3 separate regions of the Homo sapiens genome follow, and all the other regions are linked to region 3. The links are contacts of gene promoters, found by promoter capture Hi-C in human tissues and cell types (Jung and others, 2019). All regions are on one chromosome and are shown on one strand. Each heading gives the region's core, a stretch centred on a gene start or on the middle of the fragment in contact. The rest is flanking DNA. Distances are from core to core; before and after follow the strand shown.

Region 1 (3,795 bases), core at 1,182-3,681, 140 kb before region 3:
CTGTTGTGATAGTTAAATGATTTAATAACTTTAACAGGCTAATAACAGTACCTGGCATGGAGTAAGTATTCAATAAATAACAAACATTGGTAGTGATAATATCAGTACTAGTGGTAATATTAATATTGGCATTTTTAGTAGTATATGCACACCTCAGGTACTCTTTTCAAAATATACATTCACACTAAAGTGTAAATGTCTGCTGGTATAACACAGACCTCAAATGTGTATGTTTAACAGGAGCAGTTAAGCCAGAGGTGAAGGCATAAAGGTAGATTTTTGAGACTCAGTAAAATCTAATGATGAAGAAAGGGGGTTCTGGAGTAAGTCAAATTTGGATCAAAATGCAAACTCTGCCACTTATTTTGCTGAGTGACCATGGGCCAGTTTCTCACCCTCTCAGTGCCTCATAGGGTAGTGTGAATTTGATAAGCTCTTGTAAGCAAAGCAAGTCAGAAAGCACCTGGCCCCTAGCAAAGTCAATAAACACCCATGGGTAAAAAGGTCAGGAGTGGAGGGAGGAGGTAGCAGAAGCCTCTCATAGAACCCCAAACCTTGCCAGAAGGTGGTGAGCTCACCTCTGTCCATGGGTCTTTCCAGTAAAGGTTCATTAAGCACCTACTATGAGCAGGCATATGCTATGGAACCACAGATTCACTTCTGCTCAATCCACTCATTTCCACAGTTAACTTGCCTCGTAGTTAATCTGGTGGCACGTGAGTTCCGCTGGATCTTAGATATGGTTATCAAAATTAAAATTAAAATGGCCACATGAGGGTTCTGTGGCAAAGCAAGTTTAAGAACCTGCACTAAACAGCCGAACAGGTTCTATGGCTGCGGCACTTCAAGCCTTGCCTAGGCTCCTGTGCCTAAGACTCTCCCAGAGAGCGATGTAGAAGGCAGGCTTCCAGACTTAAGTGACCACAGAACCCAAAAAACTGGAACCTGGCTTTGGGAAACAGTGCTATAATTTCTTAGCATCTCTCCACCCCCATCCCTCCTTGCACTGTCAGCTGCTGGCATTCCTTCCCACCTTGCTGGTCCCCACAGCCCCATTCCTGGTCTCTCCCCTCCCTCAGGAAGTGCAGTAAGGTTTCCCAAGTTTGCATCCTTCACCCGGGTGGCACACTGTCCCCCACACAGGATGAGGGGCTCTGTGCCTGCTATTTTCTGGTTTCTTTCTGTGGGATGTCTTCTTCCTCCCCTGCCTAGCGAATCCTGTTCATCCTCCATGCCTCTGCCCCTGCAGGCAGCCTCCAGCTGTCCTGGTCTGGGATCAAAGCCCCTTTTCAGATCCTTTTGGCCTCCACAGTGTCGCTGTCTCATACCTAATTACTGGTTGGCACCTGTGAGCTTCCTGCTGTCTCCTTCCCCTCCTATTTTGAGTGCTTTGAGGTGGGGGCAGCAGTGCAGTCCCGTGGTTAAGCTTTCTTTCTTTCTTTTTTTTTTGACAGAATCTTGCTCTGTTGCCCAGGCTGGAGTGCAGTGGTGTGATCTCGGCTCACTACAACCTCCATCTCCAGGATTCAAGCGATTCTCCTGACTCTCAGCCTCCTGAGTAGCTGGGATTACAGGTGTGTGCCACCATGCCCGGCTAATTTTTTTGTACTTTTAGTAGAGACGGGGTTTCACCATGTTGGTCAGCCTGGTTTCAAACTCCTGACCTCGTGATCCGCCCGCCTCGGCCTCCCAAAGTGCTGAGATTACAGGTATGAGCCACTGCACCTGGCCAACCCCATGGTTAAGCTTACATGACTGCAGGGGGCTTTAGATCCTGTGTGACTCTGGGCACCTGCATGTGCTTCAGTGTCCTGCTCTGTGAAATGGGAATAACAATTGTAGCACCTCATAGGATGCCATGTGGAGGGAGAAGCAGCCTTTCCCTCCATTTCCTGCTTTCCTTATGTGGGGAGGTGGCAGAATGAAATGGAATGGGCTCAGACCAGGAGCCAGTGTTTGAATGCCGCTGTGAGACAAAGGGCGAGTGACTTCACCTGCTGAAACCTCCGCTTCCTTCTCTGAATGACAGAATGCCTCCATTTCTATTTCTATTGCATGGGGTTGAATTAATAATCTGAGGCTATGCATCTATAGGAGCTGACAGAGTAGGTGCTTAATAAATATTTGTAAAGAAAATATAGACTTGCACTCAGCACCACAGACCTGCGACATGCAACCCACTGGGCTCCCTGAAAGCCTGAGTGGGGAGGCATTTAGAAGGCAGGTGAGTCTATTGCTTCATTTCACAGATGAGAAAACTGATGCCCAGAGACAGTCGGAACTCACCTAAGGGCACACAGCAAGTAGGGGTTAGTAGATCTTAGATAAGAGCCCAGGTCTTCCTGACTTTCAGTCCAGGGAGATTTCGGACTCTCTAGATGGGCCTCAAGACATCTTGGGTTTGGAGAGCATGTGGGGATAGTAAACCACAAAAAAGGCCAGGCACAGTGGCTCATGCCTGCAATCCCAGCACTTTGGGAGGCTGAGGCAGGAGGATCACTTGAGCCAGGAGTTGGAGGCCAGCTTAGGCAACAAAGTGAGACCCCCATCTCTACAAGACAAAAATGAAAAAAAAAAAATTAGCTGGGTGAGGTAGTGTGTGCATGTAGTCCCAGCTACCTGAGAGGCTGAGGCAGGAGGATCCCTTGAGCCCAGGGATATGAGGCTGTAGTGAGCTATGATTGCACCACTGCAATCCAGCCTGGGCAACAGAGCAAGATCTTGTTTCAATCAATTATTCAATCAATGGATAAAACCACACAGATATCAAAAGAATGGGAGTATAACTATTTCTGACAATGCCTTACACTAACTGGCTTTAGTTTTAAAATGGTCAAATACATTCTTTTTTCCTTTTGAGACAGGGTCTCACTCTGTCACCCAGGCTGGAGTGCAATGGTGTGATCATAGCTCATTGCAGCCTCAACTTCCCAGGTTCAAGTGATCCTCCCACCTAAGCCTCCCAAGTAGCTAGGACTGCAGGCATGCACCACTACACCTGGCTAATTTATTTTTATTTTTGTAGAGATGGGGGTCTTGCTAATGCTGCCCAGGTTGGTCTCGAACTCCTGGCCTCAAGTGATCCTCCTGCCTCGGCCTCGCAAAGTGCTGAAATTACAGGTGTGAGCCACCATGCCTGGCCTAATTTCTTCAATGTTCCAATTGTCTTGAGATCTGCAGTCTCCCCTTTGCTTCCAGTTTAGCCTGAGCATGATTTGAGGGTCACTTGCCTCCAGATGCAAGTGTCCGGCAGGCACCCCCTACCCTGTGGCACAGTCCAGTGGGGACAGCTCTTCTGGGCTTGGGCCTGCCCCTCTTGGCCAGGTGTGGTGGTGAAGGGAGGTGGAGACAAGCCACATTACCTGGGCCCTTCCCTGGATGGGACACAATGCTCTGTGCTTGCCCCCACACCAGCTAGACGTTAAGGAGGCTCCCTTGGGGTCTGAGTCCCAGGATCACCATGCACCAAGTCATATGACTTTGGGAAAGCCACCTGCTCCCAGGCCTCAGTTTGCTCGTCTGTGAAATGGAAGGGATGCTGGCATTTCCATCAGCAGTGTTGCAGGGATAGGATAGAAGAAGATAAGCATTTGGGGCACTTAGCAGAGCACATGGTAGTCACAGTCATCAGTATTGTTTCCTTTAATTGCAACTCCTAAAATCAGGGATCCAAGGGACCTCAAAGACACACCCAACGTCTTTGGCCTCAAACTGGGAACGGTTGTGTTACCCCTTTCTCTCACTCTCGTGGGCCCCCTGGCTCATCTCCATGCTGGGGCATTCTCTGGGCATCGC
Region 2 (3,798 bases), core at 923-3,422, 250 kb after region 3:
CTCCTGCAATAGCCAATCACCCACCCCCCTACCCAGTGAGTTCTCACACAATGGCCACTGCGTGTTGTCACCATGTGCCCTGCCCACAAGCCTCGCACGGCTTCCATCCACCTAGAACACAGTCCCTAAAGACCCAGGGTCTCAGTTTTCCTGTCCTCTTTGCTGAATGGGAGGTTTGCTCCTTGCTGGGCCTGGGATGTTTTCCTTTCTGCTGGCCTCGTGGCTCCCTCCTTTACCTCCTCCAAAGGGTCAGATGTCACCTCTCCAGAGAGGCCTTCCCTGGGCACTCCCGTCTCTCCTGCATTTTTCTTTATAGCAATTACAGAGGCCTAAATTGCCTGATATGCAAATATGTCATTTATCTGCCTCCTCCCTGTCTGTAAGCTGCATGAGAGCAGAGTCTGGTACTCAGCGGACACTCAGTAATTGTTAAATGAATGAATGACAAGGTCCCAGCTCCTTCCTCCCTACAGAAGTCCAAGGTGCTGTGTGCATATGTGGCCTGGCCAACTTCTCCTGCCTCCTTTTTTCCCACCCTCTCTTTTCCCCGTCGCACCCCAAGGACACTGGACTTCCATTGGTGAGAAATTTTAACAATGGGATGGTAGCAAACATTTATGGATTAAGAGCAGCCAGCCGGCACCAAGAGCCCTCGTGGACCTTGAGCCCTGTCAGTGCTTGTTCACGGCCAGGCGTCCCCACACTCTTCCTTCTGCCTGGGCCCCCACCTCCCAACCTGGCCAGCTCTTATGCAGCCCCTGTCACCTCAGTTCAGACCTCACCTCTTCGCAGCTCTCCCAGAGTGCCCTAGAAGGGGCGGCTGCCCCTCGCGATGTGCAGCTTACCTGTGGGCACTCTCTCTTTGCCCCTCACATTGAACTCCTGGAAGCGGGGACTGTGCTCCAATTGCCACAGGGGCCTGAAGCAGTCCCCCAGCTCTGAGCACCATGGACCCCACCCTGGCACCTGCTCCTCACTCCCTCCTGCCCTTCTGGCCATTGGAGGGTCTCGGGTCTGCCTGCTGGAGGCTGAGCTCCTTGGGGCGGGGCCGCGACTCCCCCAGCAATGCAGATCCGGATTCAACCACTGCGTATGAACTCCTACCATGTGCCAGCCCTGTGCTGGGCAGTGCTGCAAACTCCACTGCAGCCTCCAACAGCCTGGGGTGCCTACTTTGCTGACTCTATTTAATGGCTGGGGAAACTGAGGTAGAGAGAGGTAACATGACTTACCCGAGGTCCCTCAGCCAGGGCAGAGCAGAGCAGAGCAGGGACTCTGGGCTAGGGCCATAGGGGCATCTTTCAGTGAAACCATTAGGCCCTAGAGTCCTGAGAGTGTGGGGGACTGGGTGGGGGTCCCTTCCACACATATAAACACACTCACAGACCCACAGATGTACACAGATGGAGACACGCGGAGGGATATACGCACATCTATTCATGACACAAAAATTCATAGATGCACGCCCTTCCTACACAGACACACACACGAACACACATACACATACATGCCAACTCTGAGCCTGTGAGCCCAGGGTCCTGGGCTTAAGTCAGTACATAGGTGCAATGTGGGGCTCCGGGCCTGTCTCCTACACCAGAAGGCCCAGGTGGGGTACCGGGTGTGGAGGGGGCAGCATGTCCAGTCCTGCGAGGCAGGGGTAGGGTGGCCTCTCCCTTCCTCCTGTCCCTGCCACCTGAATCCCAGGCCACCAACCACCCAGCACTGATGCTGTGCCTGTCCACACACCTGGTGTCACCCTGCGTGGTCCCTCCCCTCCCCAGCTCTGTGGGCCCCTCACCTTCTGCTCACTGATCACCCTCTGGCCGATGAGGCCCTGCAGGCCTGGCCTCGGAGCAGGGTAGGTGGCTCAGGCTGCAGGGAGCCAGGCCCAGCTCTTAGGGTGGACACTGTCACTAGGTCATTTATAGATCCCGGTCCCCTGTCCTGGAGGCCCCCGCTTACCTTTGGGAGCGGCAGATAGGTGCCGGGCCTGCACACAGGCCTCAGGAGCCTCTGTTTGTCCAGGCCAAGGCCTCCCCACCCCCACCCAGCCAGCCCAGGCTGGATCAATGGCCTAGAGCCATGACCAGGGTGTCTGGCCCTTGTCCCCTGTGGCCTGTGGCCTCAGGCTCCATGGAACTCCTCCTGCTGGGTCCTGGACAGCACTGTGACTAAGTACAGGTAAACAGGCAGGAGGTAGGAGAAGGCAGTGCCTGCCCCGCCCCATCTTCCCCCACCCCCGCATGGGCACCCCAGAGGCTGGCAGGCAGGTGCGGGAGATCTGAGCTCTCCCCCGAGGCCCGTTGCCTGGTGACATGCCTGCCTGGTTACAGCCCCTGGTCCCCGAGAGCATGAGGTAGGGACAGCCAAGGACTGGGGACTGTGCAGAGGCCGGTGCAGGTGAGTGCAGGGGCTCACAAGGGTGAGTCCAGGTGCTTACCTGGACAGGCGAGACTAAAGGAGCTGCTGGCCTGAGAGAGAGAAAAGGAGGCTGGGCCCATATACTCTGGGGACTGGAGAGGAGAAAGGGGAGGCAGGGGTGGGGTTTGATGCTATTTTCTGTTTAGCTGGGAATTATTTGAATTCCTACCTCGTTCTTTTTTTTTTTTTTTTTTTTTTTTAAGATGGAGTCTCACTCCGTCACCCAGGCTAGAGTGCAGTGGTGTGATTTCGGCTCACTGCAACCTCCGCCTCCCGGGTTCAAGCAATTCTCCTGCCTCAGCCTCCCAGGTAGCTGGGATTACAGCGCCCACCACCATGCCCGGCTAATTTTCATAATTTTAGAAGAGATGGGGTTTCACCATGTTAGCCAGGCTGGTCTCGAACTCCTGACCTCAAGTGATTCCACCCACCTCGACCTCCCAAAACGCTAGGATTACAGGCATGAGCGACCGCACGCAGCATGAATTCCTACCTGGTTCCGTAGCGCTGTGCTGTCCATGACGGTAGCCGCTGGTCACCCGTGGCTCTTGAGTCAGTCTGAACTGAGAAAAGCTGCACGGGGGAGACGCACACCAGGTTTCCAAGGCCAAGTGCAAACAGGATGTCAACCAACGCGATAACAATTTTTATATTGATTTTATGTTGAAATAACACTGGTGATCATGGGATAAATAAAATGTATTATTAAAAGCAATTTTCTTCTGGCTCTCTTGTTTTTTTTTTTTTCAGAGACAGGGTCTCATTAGGTTGCCAGGCTGGTCTGGAGCTCCTGGGCCCACATGATCCTCCTGCTTCAGCCTCCCAAGTAGCTGGGATTACAGGCGCGGGCCACCACACCCCTTGTTGCATGTGGATATTAGACAGGTTAAGTCACAAGTGTGACCTGCGTTGTTGTTCTATGGAACAGCGTTGCTGTGGAGATGGGTTTGAGCCATATGCGTGCCGAAGTGCCGGATGGGAGCCAGGGCTTTCTAGGGTGCGTGCAGGGCAGCGGGCGTCTGTCTCAGACAAGGCTGACTTTCAGCGAGTCTACATCCTGAGGCCAGAATGCGGGGTGCACGCCTGAGATGCTGTGTGCTGTGGGCATATGGGTCCCAGAGTGTGTGTGTAAGAGAGACAGTCTGGAATTTGTGTGTGTAGATTATGTATGTGTAGAATGTGCGTGTGTGTGTGTGTGTGTGTGTGTGGAGCGTAGGGATTGTGTGTGGGGTATAAGATTTGTGTGAGAGGTGTGTCTGTGAGGTTTGTATGGTGTGGGGTGGGGGGTGTGTGAAGTGTGTTGTGTGGGCATATGGACTGTGCATGTGTGTGCAGTGTGGGTGCTGGGAATGTGCAGTGTAAGGTGTGTGTGTCTTT
Region 3 (3,886 bases), core at 1,387-3,886:
TGTATGAGGAGACAGAGAAATACCTGTATTCAGCAGAACCACGGGCAGGGACAGAAGAAAAGGAGAGAAAGAGGGGAGGAGGGGAAGAGCTGGCCCGTCGCGGGCTCTTCCCTGGACATCTTTGTCCCCCAGGTGCAGAGGTGGCTTCCCAGTGGCTGAGTCAGGGCCACAGGAGGTTTCTTGGGGGGTTGGGGGGGCCGGGGTTTGGAGGGCAAGCCATGAAAATACCTGGGAAGGTAAACTTGAGGGCTTAACCCACCTGAAACACACACATACAGATATACACACTGAAAACGATTAAAAAAGGAATAAGAAATGTCCATGTGTCTAGGCACTTTTATACAGTTTTCTATTAATTCCTACTACAACTCCATTAGGCAAGACTGTTTCACAGATTGGTGAAGAAGAAAGGTTCAAAAAGGACATGTTATCTTGCCTGAGTTCACCTATTATAAATGTACTTGTGTTTATACTCATTTGTCACCGACTGCAACCTAAACATCTAAACACATTCTCTCACAGCCACAATGCCACCACTATACACATTATATGGTCTTTTATAGACACAACACAAATGCACTTACACTTGCCTATGCGAGCTGTATGTGTTTATACACAAATATGTGTTTCCAACTATAGGCATATACTACACACACAGTTTACACAATCACCTACAAATTCTGTATCATGCTTGCTTGCTAAAATTGTTTTGCCACTTCCTGTCCTTCCTGACCAACTGTAGGCCAATGTCCTCCTCTTCCCTCAGTTATGGCTGTGTGCTTGCACCTGTTGGTACTTACAGACACCTGCACTAATAACCCTGCTCTGTGTTTCATTTCATCCTCTAGCCTGGGAGCCCCGAGACACCAGCAACTCATCAGACTTATTGTTTGTATTATTTCTAGTTCTTTGGGTGTGAATTCTTCATGATGTGGAGGCTCTGAGCTGTCTTTCACAGCTCACGATTTGTAGTTTTGGTCTGTGAGTTGACAGAGTAGGCCCTGCAGAGTCACTGACTCCAAGCTGTTTTTATATAATGCCTCAGCTTAGGATTTCTGCACCACGTGGGTAGCTTATATCGGGGCCTTACACCAGTGCAGAGGGCAGGCTTGAGGCTGATCTGGTACACACGTCCCTTGTTCCACCCATGGACTGTGAGAGGACCTCAGCTCCTGCCGTGACTCTAGGCTGATGGCTGAGAAACTCTGTTCCCATAATCAGTTCTGACACCCACTTTACACTGAGAACTCAGATTTGACTTTCTGCTAACAGCAGGACCTGTGGCCTGTACCTAGTCCCAGATTTGGCATTAAAATCTCAGCCCAACAATGCATATCCAATCTTGGTTTTCCCATGGGCTGTTGGCCACGTTCCTCTCCCCCTGGTATAGATTCCTGACCCCTCTCTTTGATCCTACCTAAAAATTATGCTTTCTTGTTTTTTTTAGCTGGGACTTGTATGTTTAAAGTAGTTTAAAACAACTTTCTGCTCTGCATGTATGAATACGAGTGTGTGAGCGTGTGTAGCTGGCAGGGAGTTACTGGGTGTGGCTGTGCCAATGACTCCTGTGGACCTCTTCTCAGAGAAGTCCCTTCAGAATCAAATACCCATACCTGTTAGGAGCTGCAGTCACTGACTGGCAGCGTTTCATTCATTCACTGAATATTGGTTGAGCACTTGCAATGTGCCAGGCACGCTGCTAGCCAAGGAGGCAGTCATTAAACATACAGATAAACAAACAAATGTGAGATGACAATAGTTATGAGTGCTCTGCAGTAGACGTGCAGGGACCTGTGAGAGAATGTAGTAGGGAGGGCCTTAATTTAGGGTGTGTGGTCAGGGAAGGCCTCGCTAAAGATGTAGCTTCTAAGCTGAGATGCAAAGGAGGCAGTGAAGAGCTTTTTCCAGCAGAGGGAACACCATGAGCATAGGCCTTGGGGCGGACGTCTTAGAACATTCTAGAAACGGAAAGGAGGCCAGTGAGAAAAAGGGAGCTCAGGAGCAGAGGCTGGGGAAGGCTGCAGGGCCTCAGGGGCATTGGAGGCAGGCAGGGCAAGGACTCTGGACTTTATCCTGAGCACAGGGTGATGGGGCAGGAGAGTTTAAGCAGGGAGGGTGAAACTCACTCTGATTGGCAGCCCTGTGAAAGAGGATTGGCTGGGCATGGAGATCTAAGGATGAGGAAAGGATATCCCAGAGTGCCAGGGCGCGCAAACCAAACTTCACACTCTAGGAAGACAGAGGCCAGAGGAACCAGGAGGGCTTCCTGGAGGAGGTGGCATTTACTCTGGGCCTAAGAGATCACAGGAAAATGGAGGCCAGCATTCTAGGCCTGGGGAAGAGTTTGGGCAAAGGCTTGGCAGTAAGAGAATAAAGGTGGGGCTTGATGGGCCAGAGGATAAGTGACTCCTCAAGGTCACAAGACACCCTGATGGCTGGGACCCCATCTCTGATGGAGCAAGGCTTCTGATACCCAACTGAGGCTTGGCGCCAAGGACTGACATCAAGGAAGTGGATTCCTGCAAACCTGGCACCCGAGGGTCCACTTCCTCAATTTCTGTGCAGCTGGGAGGTGAGGTAAGAGGAAGTGTGGGCCACAGGCTAGGCCCAGAGAGCCTGGAGGAGGAGCCTCTGCCAGACTGGAGAGAAGCAGGCCTGAGCCTCCCCAAAGGCAGCTCCTGGGGACTCCCAGGACCACAGGCTGAGACGAGACGCAGGGTGGCTGGAGGAAGTGAGAGGTGAACTCAGCCTGGGACTGGCTGGGCGAGACTCTCCACCTGCTCCCTGGGACCATCGCCCACCATGGCTGTGGCCCAGCAGCTGCGGGCCGAGAGGTGAGTGCCGGGGTGTGGCCGCCCCCGGGCCTTCTCACTGCTCCTCATAGGCCTTAGGGACAAAGGCCAGTCCTTCTGCAGTCCCTGATCAACATGAGAGGCTGGGGTTGAGTCAGAACCCAAATACTCAGAAATGCAACCTCTCAGAACTGCTTTAACGAAACTTTGAGCTGTGGCTCACCACCCTCAGACACAAATGAGAACACTGAGGCTCCAAGAGTGGGAGTGACTTGCCCACGGTCACACAACGAGTGACCGGCAGTGTCTGGAGAGGAATGCAGGTGTCCTGGGTCCCAGGCTGGGGCCCTTTGCTTCACATGGTGATCAGCAATGACTTTCCATCTTCTGCGCAAACAGAATTCACAGAATCTGGCTTGTTCTTCCGCTAATCAGGGCTTGCCTCAAATGTCACCTCCTCCAAGAAGCCTTCCTGACAGCCCCTACCTCATTGCTGTCTGACCCTTTGCCCTATTTCCCTTTTCTGCCTGGTTCTTATATTACAGGAATAATATTATATGCTCATTTATTATTTTTTCTTGAACGTTGGCTCCCCCATGAGAAGCAAGCTCCACGAGGCTGTGTCCGTTTTGATCGCTGCTGTATCACTAGGAGGTAGCTCATCCCTATTGAGCACCAGGACCAAGGGCTCAATAAATGTTGCTGAATGAATGAATAAATGAATGAATGAATGGGTGGATCTTTGAGACGGAAAAGGTCTTAGATTCTTCTAGTCCAACCTTGCCATTGTACAGATTGGAAATCTGAGGCCCAGGGAGGATAAGAGACTTACTCAGGGTCACAGAGAGTGACTGGCAAGGTTGGGGCTTGGAGCACGGCCTCACCAGCATCTAGCCTCGTCGCTTGGGAAGCATTTTCAGAATTTTTCCTCAGTAGCCAGGTCTGAGCTCTAAGCTGCGGGGGCCCTGAGGACGCAAAGCCTGGCCCCTGCACCCCCTGGATTGGAACAGCAGGTGACCTCTGTTACCTACGTGGAGGCCACTCAGGGGGTCACCAGAGACAGGCCAGGCTGGTGTGTGCCTACGCGGGGAACA

What was found. The method cuts DNA at HindIII sites, captures the fragments that hold promoters and counts their contacts. A contact is called where the count stands out against the background at its distance.
Region 1: a contact is called between a fragment that was not itself captured here and the fragment with the promoter of NCF4 in region 3, in 4 of the 25 tissues and cell types used here (adrenal gland, liver, mesenchymal stem cells and 1 more).
Region 2: the fragment with the promoter of TMPRSS6 here is called in contact with the fragment with the promoter of NCF4 in region 3 in 2 of the 25 tissues and cell types used here (lymphoblastoid cells and thymus).

What each region holds. Positions count from the first base shown.
Region 1 is chr22:36,721,774-36,725,568 of GRCh38, forward strand. It overlaps CACNG2-DT (CACNG2 divergent transcript), which reads left to right. Exons shown (of 4, transcript NR_134623.1): 2 at 1,455-1,574. Among named protein-coding and RNA genes, the nearest start is that of CACNG2-DT, 20 kb to the left of the region's middle. The HindIII fragment of the contact is 3,983 bases long and covers 441-3,795 here.
Region 2 is chr22:37,107,541-37,111,338 of GRCh38, forward strand. It overlaps TMPRSS6 (transmembrane serine protease 6), which reads right to left and starts at 2,173. Exons shown (of 18, transcript NM_001374504.1): 1 at 1,963-2,173. RefSeq lists an enhancer at 403-904. The HindIII fragment of the contact is 35,568 bases long and covers 1-3,798 here.
Region 3 is chr22:36,858,370-36,862,255 of GRCh38, forward strand. NCF4 (neutrophil cytosolic factor 4) reads left to right here and starts at 2,637. Exons shown (of 10, transcript NM_000631.5): 1 at 2,637-2,834. The coding sequence starts at 2,803. The region is part of intron 1 of NCF4-AS1 (NCF4 antisense RNA 1); the gene reads right to left. The HindIII fragment of the contact is 13,239 bases long and covers 1-3,886 here.